2 separate regions of the Homo sapiens genome follow, and region 2 is linked to region 1. Evidence: promoter capture Hi-C in human tissues and cell types (Jung and others, 2019). All regions are on one chromosome and are shown on one strand. Each heading gives the region's core, a stretch centred on a gene start or on the middle of the fragment in contact. The rest is flanking DNA. Distances are from core to core; before and after follow the strand shown.

What was found. The method cuts DNA at HindIII sites, captures the fragments that hold promoters and counts their contacts. A contact is called where the count stands out against the background at its distance.
Region 2: a contact is called between a fragment that was not itself captured here and the fragment with the promoter of TIMP2 in region 1, in 1 of the 25 tissues and cell types used here (lymphoblastoid cells).

Annotation. Positions count from the first base shown.
Region 1 is chr17:78,922,893-78,928,171 of GRCh38, reverse strand. TIMP2 (TIMP metallopeptidase inhibitor 2) reads left to right here and starts at 2,785. Exons shown (of 5, transcript NM_003255.5): 1 at 2,785-3,213. The coding sequence starts at 3,084. RefSeq lists an enhancer at 4,556-4,625. The HindIII fragment of the contact is 25,377 bases long and covers 1-5,279 here.
Region 2 is chr17:78,557,998-78,562,968 of GRCh38, reverse strand. DNAH17 (dynein axonemal heavy chain 17) reads left to right here. Exons shown (of 81, transcript NM_173628.4): 12 at 989-1,254; 13 at 2,034-2,229; 14 at 4,715-4,861. Among named protein-coding and RNA genes, the nearest start is that of DNAH17, 17 kb to the left of the region's middle. RefSeq lists an enhancer at 3,843-4,971. The HindIII fragment of the contact is 7,931 bases long and covers 1-4,971 here.

The sequences.
Region 1 (5,279 bases), core at 1,536-4,035:
TTGATGGATGGAGGGAGGAGGGAGAGAGAGAGAACCAAGAGAAAAGGGAGGAAAAGAAAGCTGGAAACTTCTGGTTTAGAGACCTGTTTGGAGGAGATAATGGTAGAGGGAACAGAAAAGTAGAGTACTCTCTGGTGGGGGAATTGAGGGGAGAGATTTTTTTTTTTTTTTTTGAGACAGGGTCTCACTCTGTCACCAAGGCTGGAGTGCAGTGGTGTGATCTCGGCTCACTGCAGACTCAACTTCCCCAGGCTCAAGCGATCCTCCCACCGCAGCTTCCCTGTAGCTGGGACTACAAGTGTGAGCCATCACGCCCAGCTAATTTTTTTTTTGTAGAGATGGGGTCTCAGTATGTTCCTCAGGCTGGTCTCAAACTCCTGGCCTCAAGTGATCCTCCCACCTTAGTTTCCCAAAGTGTTGGGATTACAAGCGTGAGCCACTGCACCTGGCAAGATTTCTGCTTCACTTTTCCTGGGAGCAATTCCAGCCTGTTTGTGTGCTGGTGGGGATGACTTCGGGGAGGGCAGTCCAGGATACAGGTGCGAGGCCTTGGGTTGGAAGTTCCAGTCTCACGCCCCCCAACCCTGGAGCCCAGGCCCCCCTTTCCTCCCAGGTACATCCCACATTGGCCCCACCCCCTTGGCTGTCAGCACCACAACTGCTCTAAGGTATTTATCACCCTAACATGTACCTGATCACTTATATGTAGAGCTTGTCTAAAAGACCGAGAGCCCCTATGCTACCTGTTTCTATCATGAACTGACAAATTGAAACACAAGTTCAACAGCATTTTGTTCCCCCTGTAACCAAAAAGAAGGAAAGAAAACGATGAAATGGCTGAAGGCAGCCAGCACATAACAATTTTCTGAATTAACTGTACTTTTAAACGTTAGCTTCAAACATCATTTTGTGAACGACCCAACTCTATTTCACGCTAACAAAAACCAAAAAAGTGACTTTGGATTTGTCAGGGTGCTAAAAATAACGGCATTGCTTATTTAACTTTTCTCAGAACTGTCTGTTACAAAACATACACAAACAGAAAGAAGCTGTTTTTCCATTCTTTCACTATTTTCCAAAGTTTCATACCTCAAGTCAGCACCGCACAATTTAGTGGGCAATTCTTTTTAAAAAAAAAAAAAAAAAAAACAAAAAAAAACAAGAGTCTTTCTCTGTCGCCCAGGCTGGAGTGCAGTGGCGCAATCTCGGCTCACTGCAACCTCCGCCTCTCGGGTTCAAGCGATTCTCCTGCCTCAGCCTCCTGAGTAGCTGGGACTACAGGCGCGCGCCACCACGCCCGGCTAATTTCTTGTGTTTTTAATAGAGACGGGGTTTCACCGTGTTAGCCGCCAGGCTGGTCTCGAACTCCTGACCTCGTGATTCGCCCACCTCAGCCTCCCAAAGTGCTGGGATTACAGGCATGAGCCACTGCACCCGGGCTTTTTTTTTTTTTTTTTTTCTTTTGAGATGGAGTCTCGCTCTGTCCCCCAGGCTGGAGTGCAGTGGCATGATCTCGGCTCACTGCAAGCTCCGCCTCCTGGGTTCATGCCATTCTCCTGCCTCAGCCTCCCGAGTAGCTGGGACTACAGGCGCCCACCACCAAGCCCGGCTAATTTTTTGTATTTTTAGTAGAGACGGGGTTTCACTGTCTCTACTAAATGCTAGCCAGGCTGGTCTCAAACTCCTGGCCTCAAGTGATCCTCCTGTCTCGGCCTCCCAAAGTGCTGGGATTACAGGCGCAAGCCACCGTGCCCGCCCTGATTCTTCCTGTGTCATTTTCCTGGGCTTCCCTCTCCCTAGCTGGACTGCAAACACTCTGGAATGCTGACCTGAGGGCTGGAGTGCTGACCTGAGTGCAGCAGTGTCCATGGAGCCCCACGGGGCACACACCAAATGTACAGGGTGGGTGCCCACAGCCGGGCACAGGCAGGTTCACAGCCAGGAAGCCCGCCTCACCACCCTACACATGTTCATCCCTTCATATGCCTGGGTCTTTCCTGGAACACAAAACTGTTTTGGGAAAAGTCCTTCGGCTCCCACATTTGTGGACTAAGAGAGGAAACTGTGAGCGGAACCCAGCCAATGCCTCTGCTGCGATCCTACTGGCTCCTGGGCGCCTGGGCCCACCCCCGTCTCTTGTTGGCTGGTCAAAAATATGGCCAGTTTATATAAAATCCTGTTTTGTTCACAGTAACCACACCCCCCACCCCCCAACTAAACTGGCCAGGCGCACTTAAAATTCTAAGGCCTCCATTTGAAAAAGGGATCCTGTCAGTTTCTCAATAGGCCACCCGCCCACAGAAACGGGGAGGTGGCGACAGGGAACGGCCCCTGCTCCAAAGGACACCCCTTGGCTCGCCCCGAGGCTGGGCTCGAAGGGACCCCGGGGTGGCGGGGGACGGAGCAGCGTAGCCCTCCAGAGTCGAGCTGAAGGGGAAAGGGTAGCGGGTGGGTCGCCTGGTGTCCTGGAAGAACGGGGCGCGAGTCCCCCGCGCTGAGTCAGGGACCCCGGGCGCAGAAGGCCACGCAGCGGGGACCGGGGTCGGGGGGCTGGGGGCGTCCGGGGACCCCCGCGCGGGTGCGGGTCGCGGGCGCCAGGTGGTGCGGGAAGCCCCCGACGTGCCAGGCCGGGCACAACAAAAGCGCGGGCTGGGGGGAGGCGCGGGCGGAGGGGGAGGAGGGGGCTGCTGGGAGCGCCCAGAGCCTGCATTGGCCGCCAGCCACCGGGAGGAGGAGCAGAAAATCCTCCGAGCGCAATAAAACTGCGGCCCGGCCCAAGCCCGCAGCAAACACATCCGTAGAAGGCAGCGCGGCCGCCGAGAACCGCAGCGCCGCTCGCCCGCCGCCCCCCACCCCGCCGCCCCGCCCGGCGAATTGCGCCCCGCGCCCCTCCCCTCGCGCCCCCGAGACAAAGAGGAGAGAAAGTTTGCGCGGCCGAGCGGGGCAGGTGAGGAGGGTGAGCCGCGCGGGAGGGGCCCGCCTCGGCCCCGGCTCAGCCCCCGCCCGCGCCCCCAGCCCGCCGCCGCGAGCAGCGCCCGGACCCCCCAGCGGCGGCCCCCGCCCGCCCAGCCCCCCGGCCCGCCATGGGCGCCGCGGCCCGCACCCTGCGGCTGGCGCTCGGCCTCCTGCTGCTGGCGACGCTGCTTCGCCCGGCCGACGCCTGCAGCTGCTCCCCGGTGCACCCGCAACAGGCGTTTTGCAATGCAGATGTAGGTAAGGAGCGGCGACCCCAGCCCCCGCGCGGGGCCCCACCTCCCCCGCGACCCCGAGGGTTCGCAGACGCCCCGCCCGCCCGCCGCTGGCCGAGGGACCCCAGCGCCCGCCTCCTGGTCCCTCGGCGCCTTCTCGAATCCTGCAAGTGGACGCCCAGAGCCGACTTTCTTTCCCCCCTCCCTCCTCTCCCTTTCTTTCCCTCTCTTTGCCGAGATGCGTCTCAACCTCAAAATTCCACCGAAATTCCGCCGCAGCTCCAGCCCCAGGAAAGGGAGCCAGTTTGGCTTTTGGCAGGCGGCGCGCCCTGGGATGCCAGCGCTGGGGGCGGGGAGCGTGGGGGACACGGCGTGGGGGCGGGGGGCTGGAGGACTGGGGACCCCAGGAAGAAACTTTCGCAGATAAGGTGGGAGTTGGGCTTCTCTGGGCTTGGGGCTGGGTGGGGAAGGGCTTCTCTGCTGGGGCTTCTCCCACCAGCCCCATTTGGGGGCTCCCCGATCAAGCCAGGGTGGGATGGAAGCCCGCCCTACCCGAGGCAGGTTCCACAGGCCCAGAGGGGCAGGTGAAAAAGCCGGTGGCGTCTCCTGGCGTGGCTCCTTGCTTGCGCCCTGCCCAGGAGGCCCTGCAAACTGGCTGGGCAGGGACCGGGACCCCCGAATGTTCCGCTTTTTCGGGACGTCCACAAAAGCTGGAGACTTTGGTGACCGGACCCGGCACGTGGGACTGTGCTGCTGCTCAGATTCCCCAGCAAATACCCATGACCTCCGGACTCCTAGCCCCCAAAAGACAGGCGCCATGGAGGGAGGCAGGAGGGGCCCAGTTATTTGTTCTGATCCATGGAGGGGGAGGACCAGCAGAAATGGGAGGAACCCGCTGGCTCGAAGTTTCCACCCTGGTCCTGCACCTCAAGCCTCTGCAGCCCTGGTGCTGGTCAGCATGGTTTTCCTGGGGCAAGTCTGGCTACACGGCAGGTGGTCTCGGAGCCCCCTGCCCTCCTTCCTTCTTATGTCTGAGTCTCAGTCGAGTGACCTGTCCAGGGCAGATGGAGCAAGGCGGGGGCCCCCTCACCTGCCCAGAGTGGAGGTGGGACTTTCTGTTTCTCCTGCTGTCAGCCACGCCCTTCCCATACCCCGCCCACGGCTTCTTGCCCCACCCCGGTTAGCCCTAGGAGCTGCGTGCCCAGCTGGGGAAGTTTTCAGTTGCACCAATCTATTGAGATCACAGGTCTCAGGTGGCTCAGGCCACCTGGGCGGAAGGCTTGGTGTGTGCCTGTGTCAGTTTCCACAAAACCCAGTTTGGGGGAAATGAGGTCTTTTCTCCAGTTTAGCCTTGGTGCTCAGCAAGATTTGTGGGTGAAGGAGAGGTTCCTTTGATGAGGGAGCCATAATGGGCCTTTCTCTGGGGGTCCACGAGGAGTGCAGGCCTGTCCAGGCTCCTTGGCTCACCAGCACGTGCTGGGGCAGGATGTAGCCAAGGCCCAGAAGGAGGCTGTGGATAAAAGGACCTGGGAGTTGGATTTGTAGGAGTTGGGCCTTGGGACCCCTCCCCCTCCCGCCCCCCCCCCCACCCCGCCCCACACACACACTCCTCAGCTGTGTGGGAGAATGTCCAGGCAGCCACTCTGTCCTTGCTTGGCATAAGTTAAGGCGGCCACTGAGCTGGGAGCTGTTTCTGCGTGGGGTGTGGATCCAGGATGGCAGAGGGTGGAGGGCTGCAGTGCGTGCCTCCCGCCTCCTTCATGCTCAGCGCAGCACTCTCCTCTTCTGGGTTGCCTGGCATTTGTGTCTAAATCTTTGCATCAAAATCATCCTGTAGCTAAAACTTTTCACCCCATCCCGGCTCAGAGGCCCAGTCAGATGCCAGAGTTGCACTGCAGAGCTCAGGGCATTCGCTTCCTGTGGCCGCTGTGACAAACTACCACAAATGGGAGGGCTTAAAAGAACAGGAATCGATTCTCTGTAGCTCAGGAGGCCAGAAGTCTGAAAAGGTGTCCACAGAGCCAGTTCCTTCTGGGGGCTGTGAGGGAGAATCTCTTCCAGGCCTCTCTCCTTGATGTTGCTTGGTTCCAT
Region 2 (4,971 bases), core at 1,593-4,092, 370 kb after region 1:
CCATTGGGCGTGGGTTATGGCAGCCCCGGGAAACTCTCTTGGATTTCCCACTCACACCCAGCACTGGGGGACCCTGTTTCGTGTGAGGTTGTCTTCCCTCTCTCTGGTCCCCCTCCCACTTGGTCTGACCCCCAGAGCTTTCTCAGAGCGAAACACATTTCCTGATGGTGGTTTTCTTGCCTCAGCTGCCCTTGAGAGTGGCAGTGCTCTTCCTAAGAGGAACGCTTCCTGTGGATAAAATATTTCTTCATTTATCTGTATCAGAGTAGAAGCCCAGGTATATAAATGCAACGTTATGGCTATTTTAAAATTGTTTACTTGGAGTTGTTTTGGGTTTGTTTTTTCTGGAGACAGGGTCTTGCTCTGTTGCCCAGGCTGGGGTGCAGTGGTGCAATCTTGGCTCACTGCAGCCTTGACCTCTGGGGCTCAAGTAATCCTCCCATCTCAGCCTCCTGAGTAGCTGGAACTATAAGCGCACACCCAAAAGAATACAAAAACTGGACCCCGCTAGTTTCATGTATTCTTTGTATTTTTTATTTTTATTTTTTGTAGAAACAGGATTTTGCTGTGTTGCCCAGGCTGGTCTCAAACTCCTGGGCTCAAGTGACCCTCCCGCCTCGGCCCCTCAAAGTGTTGGAATAACAGGTGTGAGCCATGGTGCTCAGCCTATTTTTTAATTGTTTAAGTCTTCCTTACCAGAATTCTGATTTTTCCTAGGCTTAGAAAAAACTCTTGTAGCCCTTGGACTTATTTGTACTGTGGGATTATAAGCCAAGTATTTGGGGACTCGGCCTAAGTCAATGAGAAAAGCATAGAGGCTTCCACTGAGCCAGTTGACACACACAAAGGTTCCAGTGGATTGTTTTGTTTTGGCAAGGTACACATTCTCTCACTCCTGAAGATTGGCCCTGCCCGTTTTGTCCACAGCCACAGGCTGGGGAAGGGGAGGAGACTGTGGTGAAGAGGCCCCCTTCTCCTTTGTCCTCAGCTCCTGTACATGTGTGGGGGCCTCATGGAGCGGCCCCTGATTCTTGCCGAGGTGGCGCCCAGGTATTCAGTCATGCTGGAGCTGTTTGACGCTGAGCTAGACAATGCTAAGATCTTGTACGATGCCCAGATGGCGGCCTCCGAGGAGGGGAACATCCCCCTGATCCACAAAAACATGCCTCCCGTGGCCGGGCAGCTCAAATGGAGCCTGGAGCTGCAGGAGAGGCTAGAGGTGTCCATGAAACACCTGAAGCACGTCGAACACCCGTGAGTCACAGCCCTGGGCAGGGGCAGGCACCCCGCCTCCATGGTGCGGGAGAGCGAGAGGGACTGTCCCAACCCCGAGCGGGACCACCCCTCCTGTCGACCAGACTGTTACCTCCCAGAGCAAAAGCCCAGAAGAGACCCCTTCTGGTCCTCCCTCCTCCCCTGATCACCTTCTTGGTGGGAGTGCTCAGGAGAAATCTGGCTGGTCCCCACCCTTGCCCACCAGCCTGGTAGACATGAAGACCACCCAGGCAGGAACAGGAAGAGGCTGTGTATGCAGCTGACTGAGCCACTGTTGCGTGCACTTGGCCAAGTCTCCTGGACAGCCAGGGGCCGGGGAGGCTTCACGGTGGACGCAGGGACGGCTGCAGGGGAGCCCCGGCTTGGCCTGGGGAGGCCGGTGCAGCTGACTAGGAGGGGGGCCTTTTATGTGGTTGTTTGGGGGGCGTATTTGCTTTCATCTAGTTGGCCCCAGGTTGGAAGGGAGAAGGAAAGTTGGAGAGGGGCTGGCTGTCATTCATCCAGGCCTGGCGGTCGGGAGCCAGTTGCTGCGTGGGTTCTATTTTGGCCTCCTGGGCTGGTGGCTGCAGACTGCAGGTCGGAGTTCCATTTGAACATTTGGTCTGGCCACTGCTTGTTTGCATATTCAGTCTGTGAGCCTCGAGTAATTGGGTGGCCGGCCGCTTCGGCACCCCAGATCGGGCAGCAACGATGGGACGTGCCGAAGACACCCCACAGGAGATATCCAGTGGGGCCTCGCCTTCCCGCTCTGATTCCAGGGTCATGTCTGGAGCAGAGGCCAAGCTGACCTATCAGAAGTATGACGAGATGATGGAGCTGCTGAGGTGCCACCGCGAGAAGATCTACCAGCAGTGGGTGGCGGGCGTGGACCAGGACTGCCACTTTAACCTGGGGCAGCCGCTGATTCTGCGGGACGCCGCTAGCAACCTCATCCACGTCAACTTCAGCAAAGCGGTGGGTGCCAGGAGTGGGGACCGCGTCAAAGGCTCCTTGGGAGCGGGGGGAGGGCCTGCCAAGGTTCCCTCAGCACGGATTTATGGAGGTCGATGTTTATATCACAGTTCGCCTAAAGCTTTACTTCTTAAGTGTGTCCAGGGTATATTTAAGACATGAGGGAAAGCAGAAGCAACTTTGACAATAGCTTCAATGAGTATCTTCTTGAAAGCGTTCCTGTGATCCCAAGAAGAAATGACAATTTGAAACTGGGGGGGGGGAAAAAGTCTTTGCCGAATCTAGATAAATGCACTGGCTGGTCAAGGCAGGCACACTGGGGAGAATTCACACTTGTGGGCTCTGGGATGTGGGTTCTATGGCTAAAACCCGGAAAGTTCAGATGAGCAGAGGATGGAACCGAATTCCTACAAGCACAGCCCCAGAGCTGCCCAATCTGCACGTGGCAAGGCAGGGAAACCAGAGATGCGGCTCTTCCTTGGAAATCTTCCCACTCACTAACATTCATTCTTTCGTTCACCAAATACTTACTGAGCACCTACTACATGTATGTGCTTGGGATAAATTAGTGATCCAGACAGTCAGAGAGCTGTCTGTCCTGCCCTCCTAGAGCCTACCTCCAGGCAGGAGGGCGGGGAGGATGATCAGCTAGCATTCACGAGGGAGTCAAGTGTATGATATGGTAGAAGGTGCAACAGGTTCCGCGGAAGGAAGAGCAGGAAGGGCAGGTTAAGAAGATCAATAGAGCCGGTAGAAGGGGCAGGTGCAATTTTAGATGTGAGCAGAGACTTGTGGGAGGTCAGAGTGCCGCTGAGCAGAGATGGAGGGAACAGCTTTGCAGCACGGCATGCGGGTAAAGAAAAGGCCAGGTGGCGCCCGAGAGCCTGGTGCAGTCCAGGAGCAGCAAGGAGGCCAGTGGGGCGGGGGAATGGGCAAAGGGGAAGGTCGTAGGAGAAGAGATGAGAGGTGACGAGGAAGGGCCCCATGGACCACAGAGGGACTTGGAGTTTGGTTTGAGCAAGATGGCAGCCCCTGCAGGGTGTCAGACAGAGGTGTGCTGCGATTAGATTTCTAGTTGTAAAGGACCCTTCTCCACGCTGTGAGGTGCGTAGATTGAACGGAGCTGGGGCTGGAGGAAAGAGCAGGAAAATCAGTTGGGAGCCTGTTGGCACAGTCCAGGCAAGAGATGACAGCTGGGAGGTGGTGGCTGGAACCAGAGTGGCAGCAGTGAAGGTGGTGGTGAGCTTCTGGACTTGAATATAGTGCCATGGAGACTCCTAGTAGGTTGGAAATGGAGCGTGATTGGAAGAGGGGAGTCAGTCCCAATGTTTTAGGGTCAGGTGAGTAGACAGGTAGAATTGCCATTGGCCAAGAGGGCAGGTGGGGCAGAGGCCACAGGGGAGGATGGGCTGCTGTGCTTTAGCCTTGTTGGGTGTGAGATGTCACCTGGACATCCAAAGAGAGGAGCTGAGTAGGCGGGTGGATACAGAAGGCTGGAAGTCACGAGAGAGGCTGGGGTTGGAGACATAAACGTGGGAGCCACCCACACAGAGATGGTACTTGTAGCCACAACACTGGACATCTCATTACCTCATTCAGCGGAGATGACAAATGGGCTGGCTGGTCAAGGCAGCTATAACGTTGGATGACATCACACCTCATTCAACTGAGGGTAAATTGAGAAGGAACAAGGTCTGTGGCTCCCCATCATGGACATCTTGAGATTATCAAAAGAGACTAATAATGGTGACCAGGAATGTCTAGTGTCCTGGAAGCCAGGAGGACACTGTGTGCCCAGAAGGAAAGAGTGCCAGCGGCTGGGCGATCCCATGAGATGAGGCCCGTGATGTGACCAGTGGATTCAGCAATATGGAGGTTATCTCAACTTTGAGAATAGCTTTGTGGACAGAAGCACTGTTGGAAGGGATGTCCCTGTTGTTGATCTCGGGTCATAACCGGGTGAAAGCAGAGAGAAAACAGAAGGTTAGATTCCAGCGAGGAAACAAGTGAAGACCCGAAGTCTTACTCCAAACCACTTGTGGGTAGTAGGTAGGAGAGGACAGAGATAAGAAAATTAGGATGATGTCAGCCACCCATGGTGATGATGATATCATCCACCTACAATGATGACATCATCCACCCATAAGGATAATGTCACCCACCCGTGGTGATGACAATGATGTCATACACATGCAATGATGATGTCATCCACCCATGAGGGTGATGTCATCCACCCATGAGGGTGATGTCATCCACCCATGAGGGTGATGTCATCCACCCATGAGGGTGATGTCAGTGCTTTCCGGCTCAGGATCAGCCAACAGGGTGAAAACGTCCTGGTCCTGCCAACAAATACTGCCTCCCACCAACTTTGAGATCCCCCCCGGCTGTCAAAACATCCCAGGGCAGATGCTCATTTCTGTTGCTTGAACACTGCACTGTTGACCTGACCTGCTGACATGTTCTTTGATCTTCGTTTGTCATTTAGTTGGTGGCAGTTCTGAGAGAAGTCAAGTATTTGAATTTCCAGCAACAGAAAGAGATTCCAGACAGTGCGGAGAGTCTGTTCTCAGAGAACGAAACTTTCCGGAAGTTTGTGGGCAACCTGGAGCTCATCGTTGGCTGGTATAATGAGGTGAGTTGGTGAGTCGGTACTATTCCTGATGCAGCTTTGTATTGTTTTGGTTTTTTGTCAAGTTTGTTTGTGTGTTTCAGAGATGTGGCTCTTCCTGGGAAATCTTCCCA